Regions from separate parts of the Homo sapiens genome. Here all the other regions are linked to region 5. The links are contacts of gene promoters, found by promoter capture Hi-C in human tissues and cell types (Jung and others, 2019). All regions are on one chromosome and are shown on one strand. The core of a region is centred on a gene start or on the middle of the fragment in contact, and the rest is flanking DNA. Distances in the headings are between cores, read along the strand shown. Region 1 overlaps RAPGEF1 (Rap guanine nucleotide exchange factor 1). Region 2 overlaps RAPGEF1 (Rap guanine nucleotide exchange factor 1). Region 3 overlaps PLPP7 (phospholipid phosphatase 7 (inactive)). Region 4 has its middle 23 kb from the start of FAM78A. Region 5 holds the start of POMT1 (protein O-mannosyltransferase 1). Region 6 overlaps RAPGEF1 (Rap guanine nucleotide exchange factor 1). Region 7 overlaps RAPGEF1 (Rap guanine nucleotide exchange factor 1).

The links. Contacts are between HindIII fragments. The study calls those that stand out against the background at their distance.
Region 1: a contact is called between a fragment that was not itself captured here and the fragment with the promoter of POMT1 in region 5, in 3 of the 25 tissues and cell types used here (H1 embryonic stem cells, mesenchymal stem cells and spleen).
Region 2: a contact is called between a fragment that was not itself captured here and the fragment with the promoter of POMT1 in region 5, in 4 of the 25 tissues and cell types used here (dorsolateral prefrontal cortex, ovary, pancreas and 1 more).
Region 3: a fragment that was not itself captured here is called in contact with the fragment with the promoter of POMT1 in region 5 in 1 of the 25 tissues and cell types used here (mesenchymal stem cells).
Region 4: a fragment that was not itself captured here is called in contact with the fragment with the promoter of POMT1 in region 5 in 1 of the 25 tissues and cell types used here (spleen).
Region 6: a contact is called between a fragment that was not itself captured here and the fragment with the promoter of POMT1 in region 5, in 3 of the 25 tissues and cell types used here (dorsolateral prefrontal cortex, mesenchymal stem cells and spleen).
Region 7: a contact is called between a fragment that was not itself captured here and the fragment with the promoter of POMT1 in region 5, in 3 of the 25 tissues and cell types used here (lymphoblastoid cells, mesenchymal stem cells and spleen).

The regions. Positions count from the first base shown.
Region 1 is chr9:131,644,542-131,647,241 of GRCh38, forward strand. The region is part of intron 3 of RAPGEF1 (Rap guanine nucleotide exchange factor 1); the gene reads right to left. Among named protein-coding and RNA genes, the nearest start is that of RAPGEF1, 94 kb to the right of the region's middle. The HindIII fragment of the contact is 5,406 bases long and covers 1-2,700 here.
Region 2 is chr9:131,696,922-131,699,621 of GRCh38, forward strand. All of the region lies in intron 1 of RAPGEF1 (Rap guanine nucleotide exchange factor 1), which reads right to left. Among named protein-coding and RNA genes, the nearest start is that of RAPGEF1, 42 kb to the right of the region's middle. The HindIII fragment of the contact is 5,701 bases long and covers 1-2,700 here.
Region 3 is chr9:131,306,489-131,309,188 of GRCh38, forward strand. PLPP7 (phospholipid phosphatase 7 (inactive)) reads left to right here. Exons shown (of 2, transcript NM_032728.4): 2 at 1,435-2,700. The coding sequence ends at 1,799. Among named protein-coding and RNA genes, the nearest start is that of PLPP7, 18 kb to the left of the region's middle. The HindIII fragment of the contact is 3,885 bases long and covers 1-2,700 here.
Region 4 is chr9:131,251,877-131,254,576 of GRCh38, forward strand. No RefSeq gene overlaps it. Among named protein-coding and RNA genes, the nearest start is that of FAM78A, 23 kb to the right of the region's middle. RefSeq lists a silencer at 738-1,054 and enhancers at 761-810, 2,006-2,507. The HindIII fragment of the contact is 9,598 bases long and covers 1-2,700 here.
Region 5 is chr9:131,501,657-131,504,356 of GRCh38, forward strand. POMT1 (protein O-mannosyltransferase 1) reads left to right here and starts at 1,262. Exons shown (of 20, transcript NM_001077365.2): 1 at 1,262-1,417; 2 at 2,533-2,684. The coding sequence starts at 2,563. RefSeq lists enhancers at 1,048-1,915, 1,916-2,700, 2,153-2,212, 2,693-2,700 and silencers at 1,163-1,362, 1,433-1,582. The HindIII fragment of the contact is 15,044 bases long and covers 1-2,700 here.
Region 6 is chr9:131,675,301-131,678,000 of GRCh38, forward strand. All of the region lies in intron 1 of RAPGEF1 (Rap guanine nucleotide exchange factor 1), which reads right to left. Among named protein-coding and RNA genes, the nearest start is that of RAPGEF1, 63 kb to the right of the region's middle. The HindIII fragment of the contact is 6,669 bases long and covers 1-2,700 here.
Region 7 is chr9:131,715,921-131,718,620 of GRCh38, forward strand. All of the region lies in intron 1 of RAPGEF1 (Rap guanine nucleotide exchange factor 1), which reads right to left. Among named protein-coding and RNA genes, the nearest start is that of RAPGEF1, 23 kb to the right of the region's middle. The HindIII fragment of the contact is 3,620 bases long and covers 1-2,700 here.

The sequences.
Region 1 (2,700 bases), core at 127-2,626, 140 kb after region 5:
TATAAATAAAAACTGAGGGCAAGAAGATAATTTCTAGAAAAAGGTGATTTAAACAATATACAGACAAACAAATGGTAGAAATTAATAAAAAGTGCTTATGATTCTGAATACTAGCTCTTTTCTTCTAAAATAGTGCCGATTGGCCAGGTGAAGTGGCTCACACCTATAATCCCAGCACTTTGGGAGGCCAAGGTGGGCAGATCACTTCAGCCCAGGAGTCAGGACCAGCCTGGGCAACATAGTGACACACCGTCTCAATTAAAAAAATAAAGTTTAAAAAAAGGTGCAGAATATCATTTTAAATATAAAAATGTTCAATAGTAGAGGCTTTTATTTCATGGGAATGTCAAAAGAAAAATATATAAATGGCTACTTTAGTCAGACAATGCACAAAAGACCCAGTCATTTCTTTCATTGAGTCTTTCCCACAAGGTGTCCTGCAGACTAGAAGACACAATTCTCCCATGGTGGGGGAAGTGCCCTTCCTCATCCCCATCCCTGGGTCCTGCACCCTGGCTTTATTTTTCTCTTTTCACTACCTGACAGATTTGTTTACGGTCTGTTTCCAAGAGGCTGGGCGCTTACTTTTCCACCTCGTGGACAAGAGCTCTCTGCTTCATGTCATCTGCCCGGGGCAGGGAGGAACCTGAGTGTGAAGGAGTCGCAGTGCCGACAGACCTCAGATGTGCCTAAAGCCATGGTCAACCAGGCAAGAAGAGGACTATGACAGTAACACTGCCACCTTAGCACATCAGAAAGTGTTAGAGACCAGCAATGATGAAACTTGCTGAGGAACAGGAAACATTTTAAGAAAATGTGTCATCAGGTCACACAGGGAGAAAGTGGCTAATCTGAAGATGGGAGGCACTCGAAAGTGGCAAGGCACTTCAGAGCAGAGAGTTTTTCTGTCATTGCAGAGAGATCAAATCAGCTGTTTAAGAGTCAGGCTGTCCTGGGCTCCTCCTAAAGGAGCCAACAATGTAGCACAGCCAGGCTGCCTCCGTGAACTCAGATTCTACTCCCAGAATTAATGGCCTCTGGGTGTTGTGCATTCTCCAGCCTTTCAGCTGTCAAGCTGGGGATCCTTGTGAATGCAGCCAGCAGTGAGAGTTCACAGCCACACAGCCACATCCAGCACTGGCTCGGACTGGGGACTCCATGCCTTGGCTTTGCTGAAGCTGCCTCGCTGCATAACCCGAGGGCAGGTGCGTTCACCTGCGCACCCCTCCTGCTGTGGGGGATGGATTGCCATCATTGGTCCACATAAGCCTGGAAACTAAATGAGGCTGTCCGTGTCTGGGGATGGCTTAGAGACAAAGCCAACTGCTGGGCTTTGGGCTTGTCACCCACAAAATGGGGAGAATAACATCTGCCCCGTGTAACTAAAGAGGTGACTGTGGGGGACTGAATGAGAAAGCATATGAAGTGGTTCACAACATTTAACAGGCACTATACCAACACCAGAGACCATATACCTGCCAGTAATAAAGCAGAGAAAGAGGGCCTAGGATGGGAACATCTGAAAGGGAAGAAAGAGGCCAGATCGTAGCTACCACTCATCGGGGACATGGAGGCACCCACTGTGCTATGGATTTTATATAGGCTATTTTGTTTAAAGGTTACAACCACCCTGTGAAGTGGATACTATTATTTCACAGGTGGGGAAACTGAGGCTTAGTGGGACGTGGGGGAGGTTAAGCAACTTGCCTAAGGCCACACAGCTGTAGTGACAGATATGGAATTTGAACTTGGTCTGTCTGAGTTCAGAGCCTGGAGAGATAGAGAGGAGAATAAAGACCAGATCAGAAATGTGCTGAAGTTAAAAAGTTTACTTGAGATCCCCTGGTCAAAAAGATCTCATTTAACAAACGAGTAAACTAAGACCCCGATGGCAGAGATGGACATAAAATCCCCATCGCCTTTCCTGCCCCGTGGGCCATATTCATTTCTGACGCCCAGGCTGTGGCTCCACAGCCATGTGCTGCCACAGGAGATGGCGGGGAAGAGGGTGAGGAAAACTGGCCCTCCTCTCCAGACAGTTCTCTCCCCACAGCCGTGCCGCAGCCGGGACACCCGACTTGCTCTGTCACTCCTTGTCCCATCTGCAGCCTGGGTGCCTCCCCTCTCCACAGCAACATAAGCCTCATTTCCACACTATAGGACAGTGTACCCTGAAAATGTGGGTAAAGCCAGGGAGTGAGGGGGAGGGCAAGTCACAATCAGTATAATAAAAAACTAGAATTGCAGGATTAAAAAAAAAATGGCAATGCAACATTATTCCTATTAGTCCAGAACAGTGAGGCCTAGCAAGAAGACATGTCGAACACAGACATTGGTTACAATGAGAGCACCAAATCACCACCTGCCACCAGGCTGTCCGGCAGCAGCATCTCCCTGGAAGAGCTGAAGGGGAAAGGCTTTCAGGAATCCACCCAAGAGCACTCGGATCCAATCTCTGTCCAAATGCCCTCAGAGATGGGGCATTAACACCTCCCAGGACCCCCTGCTCACTGCTCATTGTAATTATACCTTTGGACACCCAGTATATGGCTAAATTTCCTCTACAACTTCAACACTCTGCAGCTCACTGCTAGACTTGTTAAAAGGTTGCAAAAAAGTTTAGAAGTTCATCACAATGTACTTTGAATTTTTAAATTCACTAAGAAGATGCAAGAGACTGCTAATGTGGAATCAGTCTGG
Region 2 (2,700 bases), core at 116-2,615, 200 kb after region 5:
GTCAAGCATTCTCGTATTCACGCCTCATATGCTAAGGCAGGTGTAATTAGTTGCCTTCATTTTACAGATGAGCAAATTGAGGCTGACGGAAATTAAGTAATTTCCCCTGGATTACACTGATACATAAGTAGCGGGGCTATTTTCTCTTAGCAAACTACATAAAAAAATAAAGAGCAACTCTGCATCCTGAATGTCATGCCTGAGATGAGCTTGCTGAAAGCGCAGCAGAGACAGCAGCCCTCTGCTGGCCCAGGCTTCTCCTCCATCCCTTCTCGCTCCCTCCCTTCCTCACACTCAGCTGGCTGGGATCCCAACCCAGGGACTCCAAGAAGGGCCCAGCTCCGGGCTCCCTATGTAAGCAAGGTCACAGAGACTTGAAATGGGTGATTGAACCTAATTACTCACTGCTCTGCTCCCTCTATCCAAAGAGAGCTTGAAAACATTTTCACTGAGGTCTTTGCTGAGATTGCAGACTCAGCACAGGACCTGCCTCCTGCTTTCCTAAATGAGCGAAGTGGCTTGCAGCGGCTCTAGCTCTGGGGCCAACAAGGTTTTGACGCTTGAATTAGGAGAGGGCAGAGAGAAGGCTGCAGCTCTTGCAGCAAAATGCAGGGCTGTCAGGTATACACCCAGGACACACTGCAGCCACTGCAACAGAACAGAACTGAGCTCTAGGCCACGGGTTTCCTAGGCGGACATAAAGAGATCTCACTCTCCCTGAATGGCCTTGGAGATGGCTCAAAGTGTCCACTCTTCCCAGATTCTTGCACCTGAGGGTACAGGACTTGCTCAAGACTATACAGCCAGTGTCAGAGACAAAGTTCACTGATGCTAATTCAAATTTTCCCACATTTTGGATTCTGCTCTTGGAAAGCTTGAAGTCCAGTTGGTTGAAAAGACAGTTGATGATGACAAGTTCTGGAGGGAAGAGGACCTGGGCAGAGGGAACCTGGACTAGAGGCTGAGTGTACCTGTGTCAGGGCCAGAAAGAGAGGGGCCAGGATAAAGGCAGACAGAGGAAGTCAGAGGCCTGGAACAAAGTGGGGCGTGAAGGGGAACATGTGTGACTATCTGGACAGGAGAGTCAGCTGACCAAGGACAAGGGCAAAGACTGTCAAAGGGCACTGAGGGACCAGCTGAGAGCAGAGACATGAATCTGTGTCAATAACACACCACTGTGACCTCAAAGGGATTCTCATAAATACAGCTGTCCAATCCCCGCACAGTAAACATGCAAGCCACAACAAGATGATCACCTCCCTCAGTCCACCCTGATTATGAGATAATCATCATCCACAAAAATATTATTCCCATGCCTAACAAGCAAAGGGAGGAGGGGCCCTCTAGTCTGCCCTTGTAAACAGACACTTGCAGGAAGGGAAAATAGGGAAGAAAGGGGCTTTGACGTCAGAGACCAGTTTAGGTCCCAATTCTGCCACTTACTAGCTGCATGATCTTGAGCAAGTTACTGGATGCTCAGTGACCTGGTTTTCTCATCTGTAAAATCACAATCATACTACCTACCCCAAAGAACTCTTGTGATGATTGAAAGCAACATGCTTAGCTCACAGACAGCTGTGACAAATTGTTTGCAGTAATGGCCAAACGATTCCCTGCTCCTCATACCCACAGCTTGGCAAGATGACTTTGCACTCTCCTGTTAGAAGGGCGGGTAGAAGGAGGGGGCAGGTCTCTCTCTCCCTTCCCCTTGAATCTGGGCTGGCCTGTGGCCTGCTTTAGCCAATGAAATAAAGTAGAGGTAACTGTGCGGCTTCTGACCTGGGGCCTCAGGGCTGCCCCCCTTCCCCGACCAGGTGAGCAACCCCACTACGGGAGGGACCCTGGGCTAGCCTGCTGGAGGCCCAGGGATAAGCCCTCCCAGCAGCTGATTGTAGACACTTGAGGAACCCTAGGCAAGACCAGGAGCCCAGCAGCCCAGCCTGAACTGCCAGCTGCAGAAGTGTAAACTAGGTGCCCAGTTGTTATTTAAGCTCCCTAAATAGCGGGGTGATTTGTCAGCAAGGACTGTAAATACTCAATGCACCACAGCTGATAATCAGGACTTCTCTCTCGTCCGGCAATTCTCCTGGTCTTGAGCGATGTTTCCATCTCTACCAGGTCATTCCCATCAGCATTCAACCTTGCCATTATTTCACCCTTTATGAAAAAACTTTCCCTTGACCGCAATACCCTTAACAACTACCACCTTGTGTCTTCACTCCCGCTTTCAGCAAAACTCCAAGAACGCCCATGCTCCCTGTGGCCAATTCTCCTCTGCTCATTCTTTGACACTTTCACACCCAACACTCCACTGACACTTTTTTTTTTTTTTTTTTTTCTGAGGTGCAGTTTTGCTCTTGTTGCCCAGGCTGGAGTGCAATGGCGTGATCTTGGCTCACTGCAACCTCTGCTTCCCAGGTTCAAGTGATTCTCCTGCCTCAGCCTCCTGAATAGCAGGGATTACAGGCATGTGCCACCATGCCTGGCTAATTTTGTATTTTTACTAAAGACAGGGTTTCTCCATGTTGGTCAAGCTGGTCTCAAACTCCCGACCTTAGGTGATCCGCCCGCCTCGGCCTCCCAAAGTGCTGGGATTACAGGCATGAGGCACTGCGCCTGGCCCCACTGACACCTCTTGTCAAGGTCTCCAGTGACCACTATGTTACTGAATGCCAAGGCCAAGTCTTGGTCCTCAAGGGA
Region 3 (2,700 bases), core at 178-2,677, 200 kb before region 5:
ATCATGCCACCACACTCCAGCCTGGGCAACAGAACGAGACTCCATCTCAAAAAAAAAAAGAAAGAGAAGATGAACAAATAGTGGTCCATCCATACAGTGGAATATTATTCGGCCATGAAAAGGAATGAAGCGCTGCCACATGGGTGGATGCTGGAAACATTATGCTAAGGAAAGGAAGGCAGACACAAAAGGCCACATGCTGTCTGATTCCATTTACATGGAGTGTCTAGAGGAGGCAAATCCTCTAGAGGAAAGCAGATTGGTGGTGTCCCAGGGGCTGGAGAGAAGGGGATGGGGAGTGGCTGCTTCGTGGGTATGGGGCATTCTTTTGGGATGATGAAATGTTTTGAAATTAGAGAGAGGAGGTGGCTGCTGACATTGTGATGTGCTGAATGCCGCTGAAGCGTGCACTCTAAAATGGTTCACTGTACAAGATGTAAATTTTGCTTCAATTTTTGAAAAATGGGAATGGGGCTGGGCACAGTGGCTCACGCCTGTAATGGGTGAACACTTGGGGAGGCTGAGGCGGGCAGGTCACCTGAGGCCAGGAGTTGGAGACCAGCCTGGCCAACATGGCAAAACCCCATCTCTACCAAAAATACAAAAAATTAGCCAAGCATGGTAGTGTGCACCTGTAATCCCAGCTACTCGGGAGGCTGAAGTATGAGAATTCCTTGAACCCAGGAGGTGGAGGTTGCAGTGAGCCAAGATCAGGCCACTGCACTACAGCCTGGGCAATAGAGCAAGACCCTGTATCAAAAAAAAAAAAAAAAGGAAAAAGGGCCGGGCGCAGTGGCTCATACCTGTAATCCCAGCACAATGGGAGGCTGAGGCGGGTGGATCACCTGAGGTCAGGAGTTTGAGACCAGTCTGTCCAACATGGCAAAGCCCCATCTCTACTGAAAGTACAAAAATTAGCTGGACGTGGTGGTGGGTGCCTGTAATCCCAGCTACTCAGGAGGCCGAGGCAGGAGAATCGCTTGAATCCGGGAGGCGGAGGTTCCAGTGAGCCAAGATCTCACCTCTGCACTCCAGCCTGGTTGACAAAGTGAAACTCTGTCTCAAAAAAAAAAAAAAAAAAAAAAAAAAAAAAAAACCCAAAGAAATAAAATGCGTATTATGTCAGGGCATGAGAAAAGCTGTATGAAAAAATTAAACAAGGTGAGGGGAGACAGCGTGGTGGGGGCTTTTTACAAACAGCGTGGTCAGGGAAGGCTTCTCCGCTAAAGGAAGTAGCTACAGGAAGGCAGGATGTGCCGGGCAGGGGAGACAGCAAAGGCAACAGCCTGAGAGGGGACCCTGCCTGGGGGTCAGTGTGGCTGAGTGGCCTGAGTGAGGAGCAGAAAGGGGAGGCGAGGTGGAAATGTGGGGGGCCAGGGCCTGGGCCTGGCTGGTGGCCCTGATGGCCCAGGGGCCTCTGTCTCCCCCCAACAGCCCTGCTCCTGGACATCATGACGGTGGCCGGCGTGCAGAAGCTCATCAAGCGGCGCGGCCCGTACGAGACGAGCCCCAGCCTCCTGGACTACCTCACCATGGACATCTACGCCTTCCCGGCCGGGCACGCCAGCCGCGCCGCCATGGTGTCCAAGTTCTTCCTCAGCCACCTGGTGCTGGCGGTGCCCCTGCGTGTGCTGCTGGTGCTCTGGGCCCTCTGCGTGGGCCTGTCCCGCGTGATGATCGGCCGCCACCACGTCACGGACGTCCTCTCCGGCTTTGTCATCGGCTACCTCCAGTTCCGTCTGGTGGAGCTGGTCTGGATGCCCTCCAGCACCTGCCAGATGCTCATCTCTGCCTGGTGAAGCGCCCGCCGGCCCACACAAGCCTCTGGGGGCAGGGCTGGCCCTAGAGAAGGGGCAGGGGGTGGCGAGGTGGCGGGCGTGGGTGGAACAGAGCGGCCAGGAGTCAGAGCGGCCACCCCCACCTCATCTTCCCCTCCTGGCTGGAGGCTGGCGAACCCAGGCCACCCCTCCCGGAGACAAGCGTGTTTGGCAGTGCCAGGCCTCTTGCCCCTTTGCTTGGACTCCAAGTCTCCTCTCTAGGCAGCCAGGACCCACCCATGGGGACAGCCCTATTTAGCTTCTGCTCTGGGAACAGCAAAAATCAGGATGGTGGGAGGGGCCGAGTCTTGTCTTGTCCTTTCATCATCATGACTGTTGAGTTCTTGGCTGTGCCCATCACGCCACAGCACGACGCCTGCCAAAATGCCCCCAACCTACTGCCTGATGCAGGTGCCATTGCCATTAGCGGTCATCGACAGCTTAGGGCAGCACTTTCCAACGGGTGCCCATGGGACACCAGCCTGCGAGATGCTTTTGGGGGAAAGGGGTTTTGTGGTTCAATAACTTTCGGAAGTGCTGCACACTCTGTCCCCAAGTTGGACATTCACAAAGGCCGTTATTGCCGTAAAGGCTCTGACAAGCCCTATAGAAAAGCTTCTTGCTAAACCTTCTTTAACCCATGTTTTCTAAACTTATTTGACCACAGAACCCTTTTCTTGGGGAACAGCTATTAACCCCCAAGGAATTATTGGTTCCTCAAGTGCGTTTTGGGAGCTGCTGCCAGAGAGCTAAAGGGCCTGGGGTGTGAGCTGACTCTCCTCTGGGGAGGCCGGGTGCACACGCCACAGCCCGAGGAAAGTGCTGGCCACCGCCCGTGGGCATCGATGAGGCTTTGGCCCCCAGGGGCCGGACTCCGTGTGAC
Region 4 (2,700 bases), core at 184-2,683, 250 kb before region 5:
GGTGGGATTACAGGCATGAGCCGTGGCGCCCAGTCAAGAAAACCATTTTATCATCCTGTTACAACAAGGTCAATAATAGGTGTTAGCTATTGGCGGTTCTGTGCTGAGGGCCTTGCCTGATGACCCCCCGGAACCCTCCTCCCTGTGAGGAAAGCGTAACCCTGTCTTGCAGATGAGGAAACCGAGGCTCAGTGGTGCCGCCGAATCACTCGGATTTGCTAAGCGCTTACTCTGGGCTGGGCACTTGTCCAGAAGCTCAGGACCATCGGCTTCACGTGCCTCCGCAATCTCGTGAGGTGAGGAACCACCTCCGTCCCCACTCCATGTCCTAGGAAACCGAGACCTGAGAGGAGGGGGACTTGCTCAAGGTCACAGCCGTAGAGGCACCGCCCGCCCAGGAGGGCTCACATGACCCTCTCCGGCCTCCAGGCCCAGCTGCAAGAGGAAGCACCGTCCTGGGGAGCCCGGAGACCCAGGCCCCCCTCACAGGCGAGGGGCTGGCACGCGGCCTCTGGAGGAACTTCTGGCCTTCACCGTCTCCGCCTGGTCACTCGTCAATGGCCGGCTGCCTTCTGGAAAGCTGCTGCTGCGCGACAGTGACCCTGGGTGGAGTGAGGCATCCACGGGTGCTCGCTCCCAGAGATGGAGGCCGGAGCCCTGAGCAGAGGCGCCGGCTGTGCCCCGGTCCTCTGTGGCCCCCAGGGCTGCAGAGCTGGGCAGGTCGATTCCCTTGTCACTCCTAAAAGAACATTTGAAGCCCCCAGCAGGCTGGTGTGGGCACCCCAGTTCCTCAGCTACTCTGGGCTCTCCTTCCCCAGAGGCTGTGGGACCTGCCTTCCGGCCTCCGTCACATGACCGCACAGCGAGGAGGCGCTTCTGTGAACCAGGAGGTGGCCCTCACCACGCAGAAACTGTGGGCGCCTTCATCTTGGACTTCCAGCCTCCAGAACTGTGAAGGATTGGTTTCTGTGGTTGACGAGGCATCCGGTCTATGGTTACTTTATTCTAGAGCCCAACTGGGCCAAGGTGATTGTACGTATCTGTGAATATACTAAAACCATAGAACCGTACACTTTCTATTTGCTTTTATTTTGTGAGACAGGGACTCACTGTCGCCCAGCTGGAGTGCGGTGGCACGATCAGGGCTCGCTGCAGCCTCGACCTCCCACCTCATTCTCCTGAGTAGCTGGGATGACGAGAATGTGCCACCGCGCCCAGCTAATTTTTGTTGTTGTTGTTAGCTTTTTGAGATGGAGTCTCACTCTGTCACCCAGGCTGGAGTGCAGTGGCACAATCTCGGCTCACTGCAACCTCTGCCTCCCGGGTTCAAGCAATTCTCTGACTCAGCCTCCCGAGTAGCTGGGGTTACAGGCGCCCGCCATCACACTCAGCTAATTTTTGTATTTTTAGTAGAGACAGGGTTTCTCCCTCTTGGCCAAGCTGGTCTTGAACTCCTGACCTTGTGATCCACCTGCCTCAGCCTCCCAGAGTGCTGGGATTACAGGCATGAGCCACTGAGTCTGGCCTATGCCTGGCTAATTTTTAAGTTTTTTTGTAGAGATGGGGTCTCACTATGTTGCCCAGGCTGGTCTCAAACTCCTGAGCCCAAGATCCTCCCACTTCGGTCTCCCAGAGTGCTGGGATTACAGGCAGGAGCCACTGCACCGGCCAGAACCGTACACTTTTTTTTTTTTTTTTAAATGGAGTCTTTGTCACCCAGGCTGGAGTGCAGTGGTGCAATCTCACTGTAACCTCTACCTCTCAGGTTCAAGTGATTCACCTGCCTCAGCCTCCTGAGTAACTGGGATTACAGGCGTGTGCCACCATGCCCTGCTAATTTTTGTATTTTTTTCAGTAGAGACAGGAGTTCGCCATGTTGACCAGGCTGGTCTTGAACTCCTGACTTCAGGTGATCTGCCCGCCTTGGCCTCCCAAAGTGCTGGGATTACAGGCAGGAGCCACCACACCCAGCCAGAACCGTACTTTAAATAGGTGAGTTGTGTGGTATGTGAACTGTATCCCAATAAAGCTGAGGTAAAGCATTTTAATACGTTTGTGTGACTGTCTGACCAGCATTCAGTCTGCATTTGTCATGGATGCTGAGAATCCCACATCACTAAGCCAGGCCCCTGTGGTCTAGATGTTGCAGAAGAATTGAGCCGTATTTAGAGAGAAGAGTCCCTGGTCTCTGAGCTAAGCCCTGGTGCTCAGTGTGATTATTCTGGGGGCTCCATTTGCATGTTTAACACGGAGCACAACTGCTATGCCTTTGCTGGGCCCCGGACCGGGGAGGACAGGGTAAGTGTGCGTGTCTCTGGCCTGACGATTAGGAAACTCAGGCATGTGAGGTTGAGCGACAAGCCTGGCCTCACTCAGCAAGGCAAGTGGCAGCCAGGAATAGTGCAGGGCTCCCAGCTGTGTCTGGCCCGCCGTAAACACCCACCCTTCTTCTGTCTGATTGAAAAGGGAACATGAAATAAGAACCAGGGCTCAGGCTGATACAGGAACTAATCCTGCCTCTGCATTCCAAGTCGTGCCGTCTGGGCCTGAAGGGAGCTGGGCTGGCCTTCGCCAGTTCCCATGTTGATTTCGGGTTCACCTCCCTGCACACAGGCACAGAGATGGAGTTCATTCACTCCGACGTGTTCGCTTGCATTTAGTAGTTTCCATCGGCCGGGCGCAGTGGCTCAAGCCTGTAAT
Region 5 (2,700 bases), core at 12-2,511:
GCCTCCAGTCTTCTGCCACGGAGTTTAGGGGAGATGCCCCCACTGGAGCCTCTGATGGTCATGCAGCCCCCACTGATGTCCAGGTTTTTTTGGTTTTGTTTTTTGTTTTGAGACGGTCTCACTTTGTAGTCCAGGCTGGAGTGCAGTGGTGAGACCAAGGCTCACTGCAGCCTCGACCTCTCTGCCCCAAGTGATCTCCTGCCTCAGCCTCCCTTGTAGCTGGGACTGCAGGCAGACGCCAAGGGGCCCCGCTAATTTTTGTATTTTTTTGTAGAGACGGGGTCTCGCTGTGTTGCCCAGGCTCTCCTGGACTCAAGCGGGCTCACGGATCCTCCCACCTCGGCCACCCAAAGTGCTGGGGTTACAGGCGTGAGCCACCGCCCCCGGCCCTAGGTCCGTTTTAAATGCCCTTACCCTCAGCCACTTCACCGCTAGATGTATGTGCAAGCAGGATCGTGGCATCGATGTTTTTCGGCAAGGAAACTAGGAGCGCCCGCGGGCGTGGGGGCACGTGCCTGTGGTCTCAGCTGCTCTGGAGGCCGAGGAGGGAGGATCGCTTCGGGCAGAGAGGTCGAGGCTGCAGCAAGCCGTGGTCCTGCCACTGTACTCCAGCCTGGGCGACAGAGCGAGACCCCGTGTCTTAAAAAAAAAATTAAGGTCGGACGCAGTGGCTCACGCCTGTAATCCCAGCACTTTGGGAGGCCGAGGTGGGCGGATCACTTCAGGTCAGGAGTTCGAGACCAGCCTGGCCAACATGGTGAAACCCTGTCTCTACTACAAATACAAAAATTAACCGGGCGTGGTGGCGTGCGCCTTCAATCTCAGCTACTCGGGAGGCTGAGGCAGGAGAATCGCTTGAACCCGGGAAGCGGAGGTTGCGGTGAGCCGAGATCGCGCCATTGCACTCCAGCCTGGGCAACAAGAGCGAAACTCCGTCTCAAAAAAAAAGAAAAGAAAAGAAAAGAAAAAAACTAGGAGCAAACTGGCGCGCCCGGCAGAACGCCGTTGTGCAGACGCAGAATTAAGATCTTCACGCCAGATGGAGTGAAAAAGCAAGGAGCAGAAGATGGGTGGGAGCCCACTGCGCTTTTTAAAATCTGCACGTCTGCTTAGAGTACACAGAAATCCTGGCACACAAAACAGTAGCACCCGAGAGAGGGGAGGTCGCCGCGTTTCACACCTGCCTCTCCTCCGGGACCGGCGCCCTCGCCCGCTGCGCACGCGCGTCACCCTCTCCCAGTGCGCACGCGCGCTGCTGCCCGTCTGGCCCCGCAGGCTCGGTGAATCGAACGTTGAGCAGGGCGGTGGGTGGTGCGGAGTGCCGAGCGGCCTCACCCCCAACCGTCGGCCCAGTCGGACGGTTCCGAGGCGTTGCCGGGAGCCGGGCGCGGCTCTGTGTGGACTCGGAGAAACGCGGGTACATTTGGGGACACCGGGGACGAGAGCCCAGCCCGGACTTGGGGGAGTCCGTCAGTGCCGGACGCGGGTCCCTGGCTTGCGGACGGGCTGGGGCCGGGGGCGTCCCCGTCTTTCCGGAGCTGGGGGCGGGGTTCGGGCCCGGGCAGATGCGGCGTTCGGGCGGCCGAGCCCCGAAGTAAGAACTCCGTGGCGCGTGCAGCCCTAGGGAGGAAGGGCGTGCTGCGGGTGCAGTCTCAGGGTGAGGACGGAGCTGGGGCCGACGCAGCCTCGGGAGTTGGTGGACGGGACAGGTGCGGCCTGTGGGGAAGAAGGGCCGGCCAGGGAGATGCGGTCTGCAAGGGGAGAGGAGGCACTCCCAGGACAGATGGGACCTTTTGGGACGAAGGCGCTCAAGGCAGATGCAGCTCAGGGAGGGAAGGGCGCGTCCAGGGTAGATGGGGCCTGAGGAGACCAGCGGGGCGCCAACGGCCAGATGCGGCTTTGGTGTGAGACAGGGTGTCCCAGGCCTGATGCAGCCTCAAGAGAAGCGGAGCTCAAGGGAAGATGAAGCCTGGAGGAGAACGTGGGGGCGCAGGGTGCAAATGCACCCTCCAGGCGAGAAAGGGAGCACCCGGGGATGATGTGCCGCTGGGATAGAAGGCAGGGAGGCACTGGGGGCAGATGCATCCTTGAGGAGAGATGAGGAGGCCCCGAGGCTCGGCCAGGTTGGGGTCCCTGGGCTGTAAGCAGCTGAGATGGCACCCAGGAGCTGCCCAGGGTCAGGTAGCTGTGGCCGCACTGTGGGCTTCTGGTCGTCGGGGAGGGAGGGGAGAAACCCTGGCGTTCCTTAGCAGTGTTCTCGCGCCCAAGACGTGCTCGGCAGGTTTTGTGGAATGAGTTGTTGAAAGGAGTGAATGTCCAGTCCTGAGATCCCCTGAATTCCCACCCGAGTTCACTGCTAGTGCCCCTCACCCCACATGTCTACCTGAACCAAGGCTCCAGGAACTTCGGTCTTTCTCAGCAGCCCGGCTGTGCTGTGGTTCTCCTCGTGTGTCCGGGAGCCGGGTGGCTGGGGATCCCTTCTGTAGCCTCTCGTGAGCCCTCATGGACCACGGCTCCTCCCTTCTTTTCTAGGGCGTCTGCCTGAGCCCGCTTTTCTACAAGATGTGGGGATTTTTGAAGCGCCCTGTAGTGGTGACGGCTGACATCAACTTGAGCCTTGTGGCCCTGACTGGGATGGGGTTACTGAGCCGGCTGTGGCGACTCACCTACCCGCGGGCTGTGGTGTAAGCTAAATGACTC
Region 6 (2,700 bases), core at 24-2,523, 170 kb after region 5:
CCTGACTCAGGGAGGGCAAGAGCCAGGGGCTGGGCGAGGCTGTGGAGGAGGGCTCTGCGGGAGCAGGGAGCCCGGCAGCTTCCTGCGGGTGCCGGGACGTGCCGTCCACAGGGTTCACCATGTGTTTTTTTCTTCACCGGCCATGAGAAAGGATTAATTCAGAAATCTAAAAATGGTCCCCAACAGGCTGAGAAGCCAAACACCCACAAGCCACCTTCCACTAAGAGACGAATTACCAATGTACTGGTGGTCCTGATGTCTAGATAAAAATGAATTCCCCAACCATGTCTTACAGCAAATTGCCACAAGGCAAAATCCAAAGTAAGCACACACCATTATCCTGCCCCTGTACCAGGAAAGCCCCCAGGGAATGAAGGTAGAGAAGAGGAATTTAAGGCAAGGGTTAGTCAGGAGCTAGTCTACTTCTTGCTCCTCAAAAGATAGCCTGTAATTTACTGAGCACTTACTATACGCCAGCCCTGACAGGCAGACATTAATTGCCATTTTGCAGATGAAGAAACTAAAGCTCAGAGAAAAGAACTAGGTGCAAAGTCACAGCATGATTGGGAAACAGCCTGAACTCGAACTGCTCAGTTTGACAAAAACTCAGTCTTTTTTTTTTTTTTAATCTCGCCCTGTGGCCCAGGCTGGAGTGTAGTGGCATGGTCGTAGCTCACTACAGCCTTGAACTCCTGGGCTCAAGTGATCCTTCCACCTTGGCCTCTCAAAGTGCTGGGATTATAGGCTGGCCTCACAGTCTTAATCATGACAATAAAGTGCCTTCCTTAAGTGGAGCCAGTGGCCATGTCTTTTAGAATGGGGAGGTGGGCACCAACAGTGCAATGGAAAGGATGTAAAAGAAAACCGTGGACAGAAGGTGGCCACAATAACCTCCTTCTGCCCAAACTGAACAGCTTCTGAGGTGGGCATGGGCAGCCGCTGGGGGTTCTTCCCAGCGCACCCTGAGGAAAGGGGCAAGGGCTGTGAGGAAGTGAAGGGTCCCTCAAGTGTGCTCCCCTCACCCCAATCTCAGTGCCCACCATGGGACATGGGAATCACCTGTGTGGGGGACTGAGTCCCCTTCAAGGCAGCTGAGCCCCAAGCACCCCGGCTGTGCTAAGATCTCCAAGATGGGCAAGAAAATCTGGGGACACAACTGCCAAACAATGAGAAAACTTAACTTGGCTCCCAGCCCAACCACGTCCTTTGATGGGTAGCAGATGCCACAAAGAGTGGCTGGTGCAGCTAACACATACCTGGAACGACACCTCCTGTCCTCTTGTTCTGTTCCAAGGTTGTCAGGCTGGGACGAAATCCCAAGAAAGAAATGGGCATGTGGTCACTATCATAGCAGACTGCCAGTTAGGGACATCAGAATATATTTCTCTGTCCTCAAGTTAGGAAGTGAGAGGACAAACCTGGCCTTCTGTGTTGTTTCAGCCACTAATTGGTTTTGTCAATTAGGCAAAACATAATTTCTCTAAGCCTCTTTTCTCATCCACAGGCATTAGCCTAGTCAGCGGTTCTCAAAGTGTGGTCCTGAACCAACAACGACGGCAGCTTCACCAAGAGACTTCTTAGAAATGCAAATTCTTGGGCCCATGCCACACCTACAGAAGCAGACACTCTGGGGGTAGGCCCAGCAATCTGTTTTAACAAGCTCTCCAGGTGATTCTGATACACAGTAAGTTGGAAGACCACTGGCCTAGCTGATGTCCCTTTTTATTGTTTTAGAAACCATCCTTCCTTACGGCCTCCTATCTGTAGTGCTACTGACTTCATTTACCCCAAACAAATATTTACAAAGTTTCTACTATGTGCTAGGAACTGGGGACACCAGGGGAACTTACACGTCTGCTTTGTGTTTAAGTTCTCATCACAATAAACGTGCACGCAGCTTGTTGGCTGGTTGTTCACTGAGTAAGCAGCACAACTGTATTTTCCAGCAACTTGCCTCTTTAGCCATGATCTTCTTCCAAAACTTACTGTACTTTTAAAATTAAAGAGCTCTGCATGCAAGTAGAGATGCAATGTGCTAACAAATACAATGTTACTGTATTGCTGATGATAAAAGAAAGAGATTATGGATGTCCAATTAACATAAGCACAGGAATCAACTGGAAAATTTCTAGAAGGAAATATAGAAAAGAGTAACACAGACAACATTCCTTTCTCCTAAAACTATTTTAGTGACTCACAGTGCTCACGGGTCTTGAATGTTATTCTAGGCACAAAATAACAAACACCAAGTGACATTTTTAGCAGTCCATTTTGCTTCAGGATATATACACAGGAAATGCAAAAGCAAAAACAAAAGCTAAAATGCTCTACCCTAAGAGGAAAGACGCAACCAAACTACCATAATATTAAAAACAGGACTAAAATTAGCTTCCTCCCTTACGCTTAAGGGTCTTACTAAAAACATCTGCCAACAGCTTTTCTTCCTCTCTCCTCTGCTCAAGCAGACCAGGGAAGGCAAATGAAACAGGCTCAGAAGACAAACAAGCGGCCAGCTGCTGCAGAGCTCGGCCTTAACACGAGTCTTGGTCTGCATCAATCCCACAAAGATTCACTCCAGGCCAGAACTAAATTCTCCTAAGTCAAAACTACATCATGGGATTTGACCCTTTTGAGTAGAAGCAGAAATCAGAGTTCTCACCCAGAGCACAGGTCAACAAGCTCTTGTCTGCACTAGTTAAA
Region 7 (2,700 bases), core at 13-2,512, 210 kb after region 5:
ATAAAATGGAGAAACTGAGGTCCAGAGAAAAAAGACCTTTCACAGGAGGCTAGAGGCCCCAAGTCACTGACTCCCATTGCAGTGCTCTCCCACAGCTAGCCCGCCGACCCACGTCTGCAGGGGATGTGTCAACAACTACATATGCTGGCTCCCATCCCACTGGCCACTGCTGCTGGATCCCACACGAGGCTGCTTCTATCCAGGCAGGCCTAGAAGGACAATCTACGGAAATGAACTGCAAAGTCACCAGCCCATCTTTCTTGTGCAACCTAATCTGCAAAACACAGGGGCTCAGAACCTGTCCCTTGCTTCAGATTTCAAGGACCCCCCCAATGATACAGTTTCTGGCTTTTCAAGAAGCTTCATGGATGAGGCTGGTTCACTGAAGGGCAATCAGGGCTCAGCATCCAGCCTTCTGAAGAAGCTGTTTACTTGTTGTTCTTTACAAAGTCAGGACTTGGCCAGGAACTAAACGTAGCCCTCAGTATGGGAAAGGGAGAAATTTGGAAGACTTGGTGGAAAGTCTAAATATGTAAGGAGAATGCTTCTTAAACCCCTGATGTGGCCAGGCACTATGGCTCATGCCTGTAATCCCAGCACTTTGGGAGGCAGAGGTAGGTTGATTACTTGAGCCCAGGCGTTTGAGACCTGCCTGGGCAACATGGCAAAACCCTGTCTCTACAAAAAAAGGAAAAACATAATTAGCTAAGCATTGTGTTATGTGTGTCTGTAGTCACAGCTACTCGGGGGGCTGAGGTGAGAGAATGGCTTGAGCCTGCGAGGCAGAGGTTGCAGTGAGCCAAGATCGCGCCATTGCACTCCAGCCCGGGTGACAGAGGCAGACCCTGTCTCAAAAAAATAAAATAATAAAAACCCCTCGATGCTTCCTGTAATACTAAAGGTAGAAGTCCTAAGTACGTGGATTGGCATTCAAGGCCTTTTGGAGTCTGGCCCCAAATTACCTTTCCCACCTTCATCTCCCACTTCCTCACACGGCGACTGGACACTGTGCATAGCCGTGCACCTGCCTGCCTGCACTGTAGCTCCTGTCCCTCCTCTCCAGCGAGTCAAAGGAAACCTCACAGCCAACATCCAGTGGACTCTCAAAGATCAGTGTTGAGGGTCCCACAGCCTCGGGTCCCACAGCCTCTGCTTCACTTGGACCATGGCAGTATTGGAAGGGGTAATGCCCGCACTGGGGAAGACTCCAGCCCCTCTCCTGGCCAGCCCGCTGACCTCAGCCTCCAGGCTGTGATGCCTCTGCCCTTTACAACTCCCCGCCTCCAGATAAACTTGACAGAGCCACTCACTGCTGATGGCCCTCTGCACTGAGCTGCATGAGGATGAACACGGTCACAGCCTGCACTCTGGCTGTGCTCCTCAAGCTTGTAAAAATGCACCTGTCTCCCTTAAGAGGTGTGGAGTCCATACACAATGGGTACTCACTATCCACTGAACAAAAATTAGTGAGCGTCAGCTATGTGCCAGGCACCATTCTGGGCTCTGGTGAAATAGCAGCCGACAGGGAGCTTACCTCCCAATGAGGGAAAATATCATAAAAAAGAAGCAAATAGGCCAGGCGCGGTGGCTCACACCTGTAATCCTAGCACTCTGGGAGGCCAAGGCAGGCAGATTGCCTGAGCTCAGGAGTTCAAGATCAGTCTTGGCAACATGGTCCCTGTCTCTATTAAAAACACAAGATATTAGCGAGGCATGGTGGTGCATGCCTGTAATCCCAGCTACCGGGGAGGCTGAGGCAGGAGAATCGCTTGAACCCAAGAGGTTGCAGTGAGCCAAGACTGCACCACTGCACTCCAGCCTGTGCAACAGAGTGAGACTGTCTCAAAAAAAAAAAAAAAAGGCTACATTTAAAGGGGGAAAAAGAGCGGGGGATGAGGGACAGAAAGTGATGCGCACCCTATCTGTTATTCTGGGCCCAGTGGTTAGGGCTGACCTCTCTGGGTGGCATCTGAACAAAGATGTGAGGCAGCTAGGGATAGGGAGCAAAGGACACAGGAAGAGGAACTCATGTTTGCCCAGTTCTTCCAATCGAGTACTCCCCAGCATGAACTCACCAAAACCCTACCGCAGGATCCATCTTATCAATGAGAAACTGATTTTTAAAAGGAGATGGGTGAGCAACTTTTCCCAAGATCACATGATCAGCAAACGGTGGCACCAGCAGCCTTTAAACCGTGGCTCTTGTCCATGGCTTCTCAGCAGGTGCCCTACAATATCTGGGGAATGAATGTTCCAGTAAGAGAACGGCAAGTGCAAAGGCTCTGAGGGAAAGGAACACCTGGAAGAAGAGCACAAAAGCCAGTGTGGCTGGGACACAGTGACGGGGAGAGGGGTGTCAGGGAGTGAGTTAAGGGCCAGAGTCCAGGGCGCACACAGGCCACGTCGAGGACCTCGGATCGCTTCACATGTGTGGGGAAGCCCCAGGCAATCATAAAGAGGATCCATGTGATCCAGTTCACACTCTGGCTGTGAAATGCAGAATGAATGGCTGTGAGTTGGGAGAAGAAACCAAGAAGCCGGTTAGGAAGGCATGGGGCAGTCCAGGGAGAAACGGCGGTGGCCTGGAGTAAGGGGTCAGCAGAGGAGGTACTAAGAAGGACCAGTCAGGATTTATTGGAGTAAATCGCAGGGGTTTACCGAGGGACTGGATGTGCGCTGGGAGAGAGGAGGCAAGGACAC